Regions from separate parts of the Homo sapiens genome. Here regions 2 and 3 are each linked to region 1. Evidence: promoter capture Hi-C in 16 types of primary human blood cells and fetal thymus (Javierre and others, 2016). All regions are on one chromosome and are shown on one strand. The core of a region is centred on a gene start or on the middle of the fragment in contact, and the rest is flanking DNA. Distances in the headings are between cores, read along the strand shown.

Region 1 (3,172 bases), core at 176-2,675:
TCAGGGACATAACTGGAGGGAATGATTGATTTCTACAATGACTACAAGTGGTTGATGATTTTTCTGTATTTTTGAGATAGGGTCTTGCTCTGTTGCCCAGGCTGACATGCAGTGGTGCGATCATAGCTCATTGAAACGTTGAACTCCTGGGCTGCAGTGATCCTCACACATCTGCCCCCTCTTGTGTAGCTGGGGCAAAAGGTGCCTGCCACTCTGGCAGTCTGATATTTAAAGTTTTTTAAAGAAAGGGTCTCACTATGATACCCAGACTGGCCTCAAACTTCTGGCCTCAAGTTATCCTCTCATCTTTGTCTCTCAGATTGGTGGGATTATAGCCGTGAGCCAGTGAACCCAGCTGCTTTGTTGATTAATATCCACTGTAAGCTCTGTCTGAACTGAGACTAGACTTGTTCCTTCATGGGTGGAGGAACAAGTTTAGACTCAGTTGAGACATAGCTTACAGTGGATATTTTACGTGATTCAGTCTCTGAAACCATGGCCTCTAATATCCTTCTCTAGCAAACCTCCTGTCCCACAATGAAAAGGACAGGATAGGCTGGGGACAGGGAAGCTGAGCCTGGGAGGCAAGAGACAGTGGTCACTCTGTGCAGACCCCACCTGAGGATCCATCACCCCCATAGTCTCCATTCCTCTTCCCCACTCTTACTGGGAAGAGACATCTACTGATCATACATTCTGCTCTCATAAGTGATCTGAAACAAGTCCTTGGTAACTCACAATCTCCAAGATCCCTACCAGTTAAGCCACCTGGGATCCACATTGCCACACATGAAAAGACACACAGTTCCTTCATCAGAAGTGCTGTTGTGTGGGGAGGAACCTTCACATGCACAGAAGGCCACATGCGTGTTTTCCCTTCAATACTCAGTCACATCCCAGCACACACACCCACAGTCACACAGAGCCATGCCACTCACTGAGTTACACACACCTGCTCACTGCGCACATAAAGATGACCATGCACTGGTCTGGCTGTGCTAACACACACTCACATCACAAAGAGGAAGACAAAGTACAATCACCCCCCTTACACTCACACAAACACCTGCTTGACCTGGTGTGCCATCCACCTCCCACCTAAAGTCACATCATCTCATCAGAGTTCACTCTCATCAGATACCACCTCATGCTCACAGAGGGTTACATTTGTCCAGGATCCACAACCCACATGCTACAAGCATCTCAGATACCCAGCCTCAGTGTTTCTCTTCCACACACCCACAACTCTCAGTAAAGCATTCACAGTAGGAATGCTCATATTTTCATCTCATAAAATACCCCACATCTTTCTTGGTTTTGTGTGACTTGAGATTATTGAAGGCTGTGCCTTTTCAACTCACAGTTAGAAATGACATTGTCCTCTCCTTCTGGGCGACCTTCGGAATTGTGTCCAGTCTTCTGAGTGAATCTCTGAGTTGCAGCACTTAAATGACCCCTTTCAGCTTTGCCCTCTGGCATCATTCCAGATTCCATGCTCCTCCCAGCAAGCTTTCCTTGCAGCATGAGAAAGGGTCAGGTGTCACGAAGAAACTCAGTCACAACCATAACTATTTGCAAGTCTGTGTCTGTAATGCAGCAGAAATGACATTGGGGAAGGTACCAGACTGTGGATTGGGTTACCAGGGAAATGCATAGATAAGGATGATGGAGTGAGGGGTAGTGATTGTAAAGCCCAGCCTTTGTGCCTCTCAAGCCTTTTCTCCACTATGCAGAATCTACCCAGAAGGTGTACATTTTCCCAATTTTGTACAATGGCTAAACAAGAAAAAAAAAGTTGGAGATTTTGGGGGAAACAAGTTAGCCCTAAAAGGTAATTCTTCTCTCTGCCTTTAAATGTTCTGGGAGAGCACTGACCTTGATCCTGAGGAGGATCTGCAGAGAGAAGTAGAGAAATTTCTTGCATGAACCTGCCCCACACTAAGCCACTTGGCTTTGCTAGGTAAGGGCCACTTTCATCTGACTGTCACACACTTGGGCTCTAGCTACACCCTCTGTTGGTGTCCATGTAAATCAAAGTTTGAGGGAGACTGTTTCTTCTGCAGATTCTGGGAGAAAGGTGAGATTTAAAAAAAATTATTATTATACTTTAAGTTCCAGGGTACATGTGCACAATGTGCAGGTTTGTTACACAGGTATACATGTGCCATGTTTGTTTGCTGCACCCATTAACTCGTCATTTACATTATTTATCCTGATGCTATCCATCCCCCTGCCCCCCACCCCATGATAGTCCCCCATGTGTGATGTTCCCTGCCATGTGTCCAAGTGCTCTCATTGTACAATTCCCACCTATGAGTGAGAACATGCGGTATTTGGTTTTCTGTGCTAGTGATAGTTTGTTCAGAATGATGGTTTCCAGCTTCATCCATCTCCCTGCAAAGGACATGAACTCATCCTTTTTTATGGCTGCATAGAATTCCATGGTGTATATGTGCCACATTTTCTTAATTCAGTCTATCATTGAAGGATTTGGTTTGGTTCCAAGTCTTTGCTATTGTGAACAGTGCTGCAATAAACATACGTGTGCATGTGTCTTTATAGTAGCATGATTTATAATCCTTTGGGTATATACCCAGTAATGGGATGCTGGGTCAAATGATATTTCTAGTTCTAGATCCTGGAGGAATGGCCACACTGTCTTCCATAATGGTTGAGCTCGTTTACACTCCCACCAACAGTGTAAAAGCGTTCCTATTTCTCCATATCCTCCCCAGCATCTGTTGTTTCCTGACTTTTTAATGATCGCCATTCTAACTGGTGTGAGATGGTATCTCAATGTAGTTTTGATTTGCATTTCTCTAATGACCAGTGATGATAAGCATTTTTTCCTGTGTTTGTTGGCTGCATAAATGTCTTCTTTTGAGAAGTGTCTGTTCATATCCTTTGCCCACTTTTTGATGGGGTTGTTTGTTTTTTTCTTGTAAATTTGTTTAAGTTCTTTGTAGATTCTGGATATTAGCCCTTTGTCAAATGGGTAGATTGCAAAAATTTTCTCCCATACTGTAGGTTGCCTATTCACTCTGACGGTAGTTTCTTTTGCTGTGCAGAAGCTCTTTAGTTTAATTAGATCCATTTGTCAATTTTGGCTTTTGTTGCCATTGCTTTTGGTGTTTTAGTCATGAAGTCCTTGCCTATGCCTACATCCTAAATG
Region 2 (3,172 bases), core at 259-2,758, 120 kb after region 1:
AGGAGAACTCCATCTCTCCAAGAGAACTGTAGAAACAAAGTAAGGTACACGTGAGTCAGAATGATTTCCAACCCAATCAGCTCCCAGACACGACCTGTGATAGGTCAGAATTTTTAGATGGATCCTCCTGAAGTTCAATTGCCAGCAACTCTCATATTTGGATTCCAGCTAAATTCAAAGGATTTTTTTTCGAGACAGGGTCTTGCTCTGTCATACAGGGCTGGAGTGCAGTGGTGCAATCATAGCTCACTGCACAGTCCACCTACCAAGCTCAAGTCATCCTCCCACCTCAGCCTCCTGAATAGCTGAGACTACAGGTGCACATGCCACCATGCCTGCCTAATTTTTTTTTTCTGTAGGGACAGGGGTCTCACTATGTTGCCCAGGCTGGTCTCAAACTCATGGGCTCAAGCGATCCTCCCACCTTTGCCTCCCAACTTGCTGGGATTACAGGCATGAGCCACTACACCCAGCCACAGCTGACTGATTTTAAATGGAACATAGACTTTCACGTTTTGGGTTATCATCAGGATCAGAGCTAGCCACACAGAAAGGCTAACCATATCATTAGAGAGTTGGGGCTTGGAGCCATGTGATATCAGGTAGGAGGCTGGAGATTGACTTCAACAAAATGGACGATGGTTTAATCAAGCATGCCTAGGTAGTAAAACCCCAGTAAAAACTCTGGACACCAAAGCCTGGGTGAGAGTCCTATGTTAGCACTACCCCCACACTTATTGCCACACATGGACGACAAAGGGTAACACATCCCTAGGAACACAGGAACTTCACATTTGGAACCCTCCCCATCCCAGATTGTGCCTTATACATCTCTTCTAATCTGTGTCCTTTGCCTGTAATAAGCATGACTGTGAATATAACAGATTTCAATGAGCTCTGGGAATTATCAAACCTAAAGGTGGTTTTGGGAAACCCCCAAACTTCCAGTGTCAAAATATTACTTACAGGCCAGGCCGAGTGGCTCAGGCCGGTAATCCCAGCACTTTGGGAGGCCAAGGCAGGATGATCACTTGAGTCCAGGAGTTCGAGACCAGCCTGGGCAACATAGTGAGACCCAATTTCTACAAAAAATAAAAAATCAGCTGGGTGTGGTTGTGTGCACCTGTAGTTCCAGTTACTCCAGAGGCTGAGGCAGGAGGATGGCTTGAGGCTGGGAGGTCAAAGCAGCAGTAACCGAGATCGCACCACTGCACTCCAGCCTAGGCGACAGGGCGAGACCCAGTCTGAAAAAAAAAAAAAAAAGACAGGAGCTGGAAAATGACCGTATAAGGAACTTTACATTAATACTGAAGTGGTTGTAATTTAAGATACCGCGCAGTCCGCAGGTCCTCAGGCGCTCAGAGGACCAGAGGCGGCTACAGACGTAATGGCTACTCAGGACCGCTAGGGAACGCTAGAGGATTGGCCACCGTGCTTACGCATGCGCACACTCTGGCACGCACAGCGTTTACGCGCTCACTGAGACTCGCGCATGCGCAGGTCTCGCATACAGCAGTGCAGTGCCGTTATTCCAGTCTCCGTAGAAACGCTGGGACTATGGCGGAGCCGACTGGGCTGTTGGAGATGTCCGAGCTCCCCGGAGATAGCAGTGTCCCACAGGTGGGCACCGCGAGTGGCGTCAGCGACGTACTGCGGGGGGCAGTCGGCGGCGGGGTTCGGGTGCAGGAGGCTCGGGAAGGCCCAGTGGCCGAAGCTGCGCGGTCCATGGCGCGGATGCCGGGCCCTGTGCCCGGGCCCATCCCCAGCAGCGTCCCGGGCCTGGCCTCCGCGCCAGACCCCCATCAGCAGCTCGCTTTCTTAGAAATTAACCGGCAGCTGTTGTTCCGCGAGTATCTGGATGGTAGCTCCATGATTCCGGTCAGATTACTACGGGATTTCGAGGAACGCCGCAGGCTGTTTGTGGAAGGCTGCAAGGCGAGGGAAGCAGCCTTTGACGCGGATCCCCCGCAGATGGACTTCGCTGCTGTCGCGTTTACGGTAGCGCTGACTGCCTCCGAGGCCCTCAGTCCTCTGGCCGACTGAGTCGGCTGTGATGATGACATTGGTGGCAAGGAATAGCCAAGTGACCCTTTTGGGATCAAAAGAACAGGCAGGCTGTGCCAGTTTAGTTAACTCAGTCATTAGGGGGAATGCAAACTGGAAGGGAATACGGCAATGTGCAATTGAAGGAGGAAGCACACTCCGAAATGGAAACAGACAAGACTGTTGAATCTTGTTTTCTTTCTTCTTTTTTAGTATTATTTAAATAGAGAAGGGAGTCTCGCATCCCTAGGCTGGTCCCGAACGCTTGGACCCGAGCGATCCTCCCGCTTCGGCCTCCCAAAGTGCTGGGATTACTTTACAGGCGTGAGCCACCGCGCCCGGCCGAATCTTGTTTTCAAACAGGTCCCAAGACACTTCTGACTTAGCACTTTGTTAGCAATGCATTTTCCTGCATTTGTGAAGAATCCTTCATGACTTTCACCATAAAGGATGGTTTTGCAAAGATATGAGAAAAAAAAAATGCCAATAACAGAACCCATAGAAATGAACCTAAGTGATGAAAGAAAACAAAGAAATAGAGTTGTCAGGAATCCAGGTGTACCTGAGTTACTAGGATTGGAAGGCTATTGAGAGGACTTTGAAATTTCACAATTTGTGGTCATGTCAACAAATCCTAGTGTAAGATTCATATTTGTGTTTTCTGAGGTACTTTAGATGAACAGTAAATATTCAATAGAAAAAACCACGTATTATATGATCAGTGTTTTCAAGTCTATGTGAAATTGGGTAGGTGTGGAATAAACTTGTTTTTTGTTAATTTTAAGCTTTTTATTTTATTCTAGAATATGTATTCTATTCACAAGACTCAACAAAAAAAAGTATCGGCCGGGCGCACTGGCTTACGCCTGTAATCCCAGCACTTTGGGAGGCCACGGCGGGTGGATCACCTGAGGTCAGGAATTCAAGACCACCCTGGCCAACATGGTGAAACCCCATCTCTACGAAAAATAAAAAATTAACTGGGTGTGGTGGCACGCGCTTGTAGTCCCAGCTACTCGGGAGGCTGAGGCAGGAGAATCACTTGAACCTGGGAGGCGGAGGTTGCAGTAAGCCGAGATCACGCCACTGCACTCCAGCCTGGTCAACAGAGTGGGACTCCGTCTCAAAA
Region 3 (3,172 bases), core at 310-2,809, 82 kb before region 1:
TTTTCTTCATGCCTTTTCATACTACAGCATTTCTTGAAGATATAGCCATGCCAGTACTGATAATTTTGTTTTTCTTTTATATATAGTCTATGTACTGGCTACTTAATTAAAAACTGTACTGTAAAAAATTTCAAATGTTTGCAAAAGGAGAGAACTGTCATCCCCAGATTATTTTAGAGCAAATCCCAGATATTATATAATTTCATACACAAAACCTAAAGTTTTTCGGGGGAACAGTGTGTGCTTGGAAAGATGTAGTTGAAAAGAAAGACTGAAAGCAAGTCGTAGGGCATAATGGATTTCTGAAGAAATAGTTGCAACCAGCAGAAGTATGGGCTATTGTGCAGAGGATATGGAAGTTAAAGAAGATCAATCTCTCTGCATCACTGAAAGGATTGCTGGAATGCCTGAGAAGTAAATAACATCAACATCTTTATCCACAGCTTACTAGGTGGCCAGACGCCCTGAACTGATATTTCTTCCCCAGTTCAGATGAATAGCTGGGATATTACTCAAAATTCTATTGCATATCTGTTGCAAGGAAAAGCAGTTCCTCTTTCCCTTCTGTGGTAATTTCTTACAAGCTACAGTTCTGGGCAGGGTGTGAGGGTGGTTGCCTAGAACGGGGTTTCCAAAGCTCCTTAATTGTGGCCTCTGACCCTTTTCATTGCTTCCATGTCCATACCCAGAGTCAAAACCCAAGGAATGCAGTGGGATGACATTACAAATTAATCTTAAGGAAATACGTTATATACCAAAAGAACTGTGTGATTGTGCTGATTTATATGAGCAGAATCTTGGAGTGCATGCTTGGAAATGAATTGTCAAGGTTTTAGATCAGGGAAAGTGGAATTTATTGTCGGGTCAAGCACAACTAATATTAATGCTAATGCATCCTCATCGCTTAGCTCCCACTTATGAGTGAGAAATCTCACCTTTCTCCAAGAATCTGCAGGAGAACGACAGCCTCAGATTTTGATTCACATGAAAAGAAATAGGGAAATAAGAGGGCGTACCTAAAGCCCAGGTGTCTGAGAGACAGAGTGGGAGTGGCTCTCACCTGGCAGAGCCAAGGGATCTGAGGGTGGGTAAAGAAGACACAAGTGTTTTCTCTACTTCTGTCCCCAGGTCCTGCGAATGATCAAGATCTATGCTCTCCCAGAACCACTGGAGAAGGAGGAGGAGGATTTTCTTTCAAAGCCAAGTGCCTTGCCCCCAGGATCTCCAGCTTTTTACCATTGCACAGGTTAGGAGAACGCACACCTTCCTGGTAGATTCTGCACAGTGGAGAAAAGGCTTCATGAGAAGCATGGAGGCTGGAACTCACACCACTCATCCTCACTCCATCGTCTTTATCTGTGCATTTCCCTGGTGACCCCTTCCTCCTCCAGTACCTCCCTCACTGTCGTTTCTGCTGCATCACAGGCACAGGCCTCCAAACAGGTGTGGTTGTGACTGAGTCTGTTTCTGACACCCCACCCCTTCTCACTGTGTGAGGAAACCTTCCTGGGAGGGGCTTGGAATCAGGAATAAAGCCAGAGGCAGGGCTGATAGGGGCCATTTAAATTCTGCAGCTCAGAGATTCACACAGAAGTCTGGACACAATTCAGAAGAGCCACCCAGAAGGAGACAACAATGTCCCTGCTACCCGTGAGTTAAAAAGGCACAGCCTTCAATAATCTCAGGTCACACAGAAAAGGGAAGAGGGAGATTTTATGGGATGAAAATATGAAAATTTCTACTGTGAATGCTTTACTGAGAGTTGTGGGTGTGTGGAAGAGAGACCCTAGGGCTATGGTATCTGAGATGCTCCTGGGGTAGGGGGGTAGGGGGTGTGGATGCTGGAACATTGTGACCCTCTGTGAGCATGTGATGGTATCTGATGAGAGTAAACTCTGCTAAAAATGATGTGACTTTAGACGGGATGTGTATGGCCCTCCAGGATATGGGTGGGTGTGTAAGTGATTGTAATCAGGTGACTGTGTTTTGTCTTCATGACTGTGATGTGAGTGTGTGTGTGAGCACAGCCGGACCAGTGCATGAGCATCTTTATATGCACAGTGAGCAGGTGTGTGTGACTCAGTGAGTGGCACGGCTCTGTGTGACTGTGAGTGTGTGTGCTGGAATGTGACTGGGTGTTGAACTGGGAACATGCATGTGGCCTTCTGTGCATGTGAAGGTTCCTCCCCACATAGCAGTACTCTGTCTAACTTCCCTTGTGCATCACTGTGGATCCCCGGTGACAGAACTTGTGGGATCTTGGGGCCCTTGAGTTACCGAGGACTTATCTCTGAGCATTTATGAGAGCAGAATGCATGAATTCTCAGGTGCCTTTTCCCAAGCAGAATGGGGGTGAGAAACAGACGATGGGGCTGATGGTTCCTTAGGTGGAATCTGCACACAGTGACCACTGGCTCCTGCCTCCAGCCTCAGGTCTCTCCCTGTCTCCTACCCTAGCCTGGCCTTCCCATTGAGTGCCAGGATGCTAGAGAAGGACATTGAGGGACTTGATTTAAGAGACTGAATCACCCAAAACCAGGAAGGTACAAGGCAGAGCTTACAGTGGATATTCATCAAGATGTTTGCTGAGGCCTGTAGTCTCAGCACTTTGGGTGGCCGAATTGAAAGGCCCATGTCAGGCCAGGACTGGTAGACCAGCCTGGGAGACATAGCAAGATTTCATCTTTCCAAAAATTTAAAAATTTATTGAATGTGGTGTTGCATACCGTAGTTCCAGCTGCTGGGGGGCATATGCAAGAGGTTCACTGAAGCCCAGGCCTTCAAACCTGCAGTAATTTTTTTTTTTTTTTTTTGAGACAGAGTCTCGCTCTGTTTCCCAGGCTGGAGTGCAGTGGTGCAATCTCGGCTCACTGCAACCTCCACCTCCCGGGTTCAAGCGATTCTCATACCTCAGCTTCCCGAGTAGCTGGGATTACAGGCTTGTGCCACCACTCCTGGCTAATTTTTGTATTTTCAGTAGAGATGGGGTTTCTCCATGTTGGCCAGGCTGGTCTCGAACTCCTGACCTCAAGTGATGCACCCACCTTGGCCTCCCAAAGTGCTGAGATTACAGGCGTGAGCCACCACGCCCAGCCTGCAGTGAGTTTTGATGGTGCCACTGCATTCCAGCCTAGGTGACAGTGTGACCCTGTTTCAAAAAAGAAAAATACCA

The links. Contacts are between HindIII fragments. The CHiCAGO score rates a contact against its expected background, and 5 or more counts as called.
Region 2: a contact is called between the fragment with the promoter of EID2B here and the fragment with the promoter of LGALS16 in region 1, in 7 of 17 cell types (non-activated CD4 T cells, activated CD4 T cells, naive CD4 T cells and 4 more). The highest score is 9.1, in non-activated CD4 T cells.
Region 3: a contact is called between the fragment with the promoter of CLC here and the fragment with the promoter of LGALS16 in region 1, in 1 of 17 cell types (fetal thymus). The highest score is 5.7, in fetal thymus.

What each region holds. Positions count from the first base shown.
Region 1 is chr19:39,654,166-39,657,337 of GRCh38, reverse strand. It overlaps LGALS16 (galectin 16), which reads right to left and starts at 1,425. Exons shown (of 4, transcript NM_001190441.3): 1 at 1,362-1,425. The coding sequence starts at 1,376. The HindIII fragment of the contact is 3,782 bases long and covers 1-1,511 here.
Region 2 is chr19:39,531,188-39,534,359 of GRCh38, reverse strand. EID2B (EP300 interacting inhibitor of differentiation 2B) reads left to right here and starts at 1,508. Exons shown (of 1, transcript NM_152361.3): 1 at 1,508-3,172. The coding sequence starts at 1,558. The coding sequence ends at 2,043. The HindIII fragment of the contact is 7,702 bases long and covers 1-2,830 here.
Region 3 is chr19:39,736,416-39,739,587 of GRCh38, reverse strand. It overlaps CLC (Charcot-Leyden crystal galectin), which reads left to right and starts at 1,559. Exons shown (of 4, transcript NM_001828.6): 1 at 1,559-1,650. The coding sequence starts at 1,636. The HindIII fragment of the contact is 8,050 bases long and covers 1-3,172 here.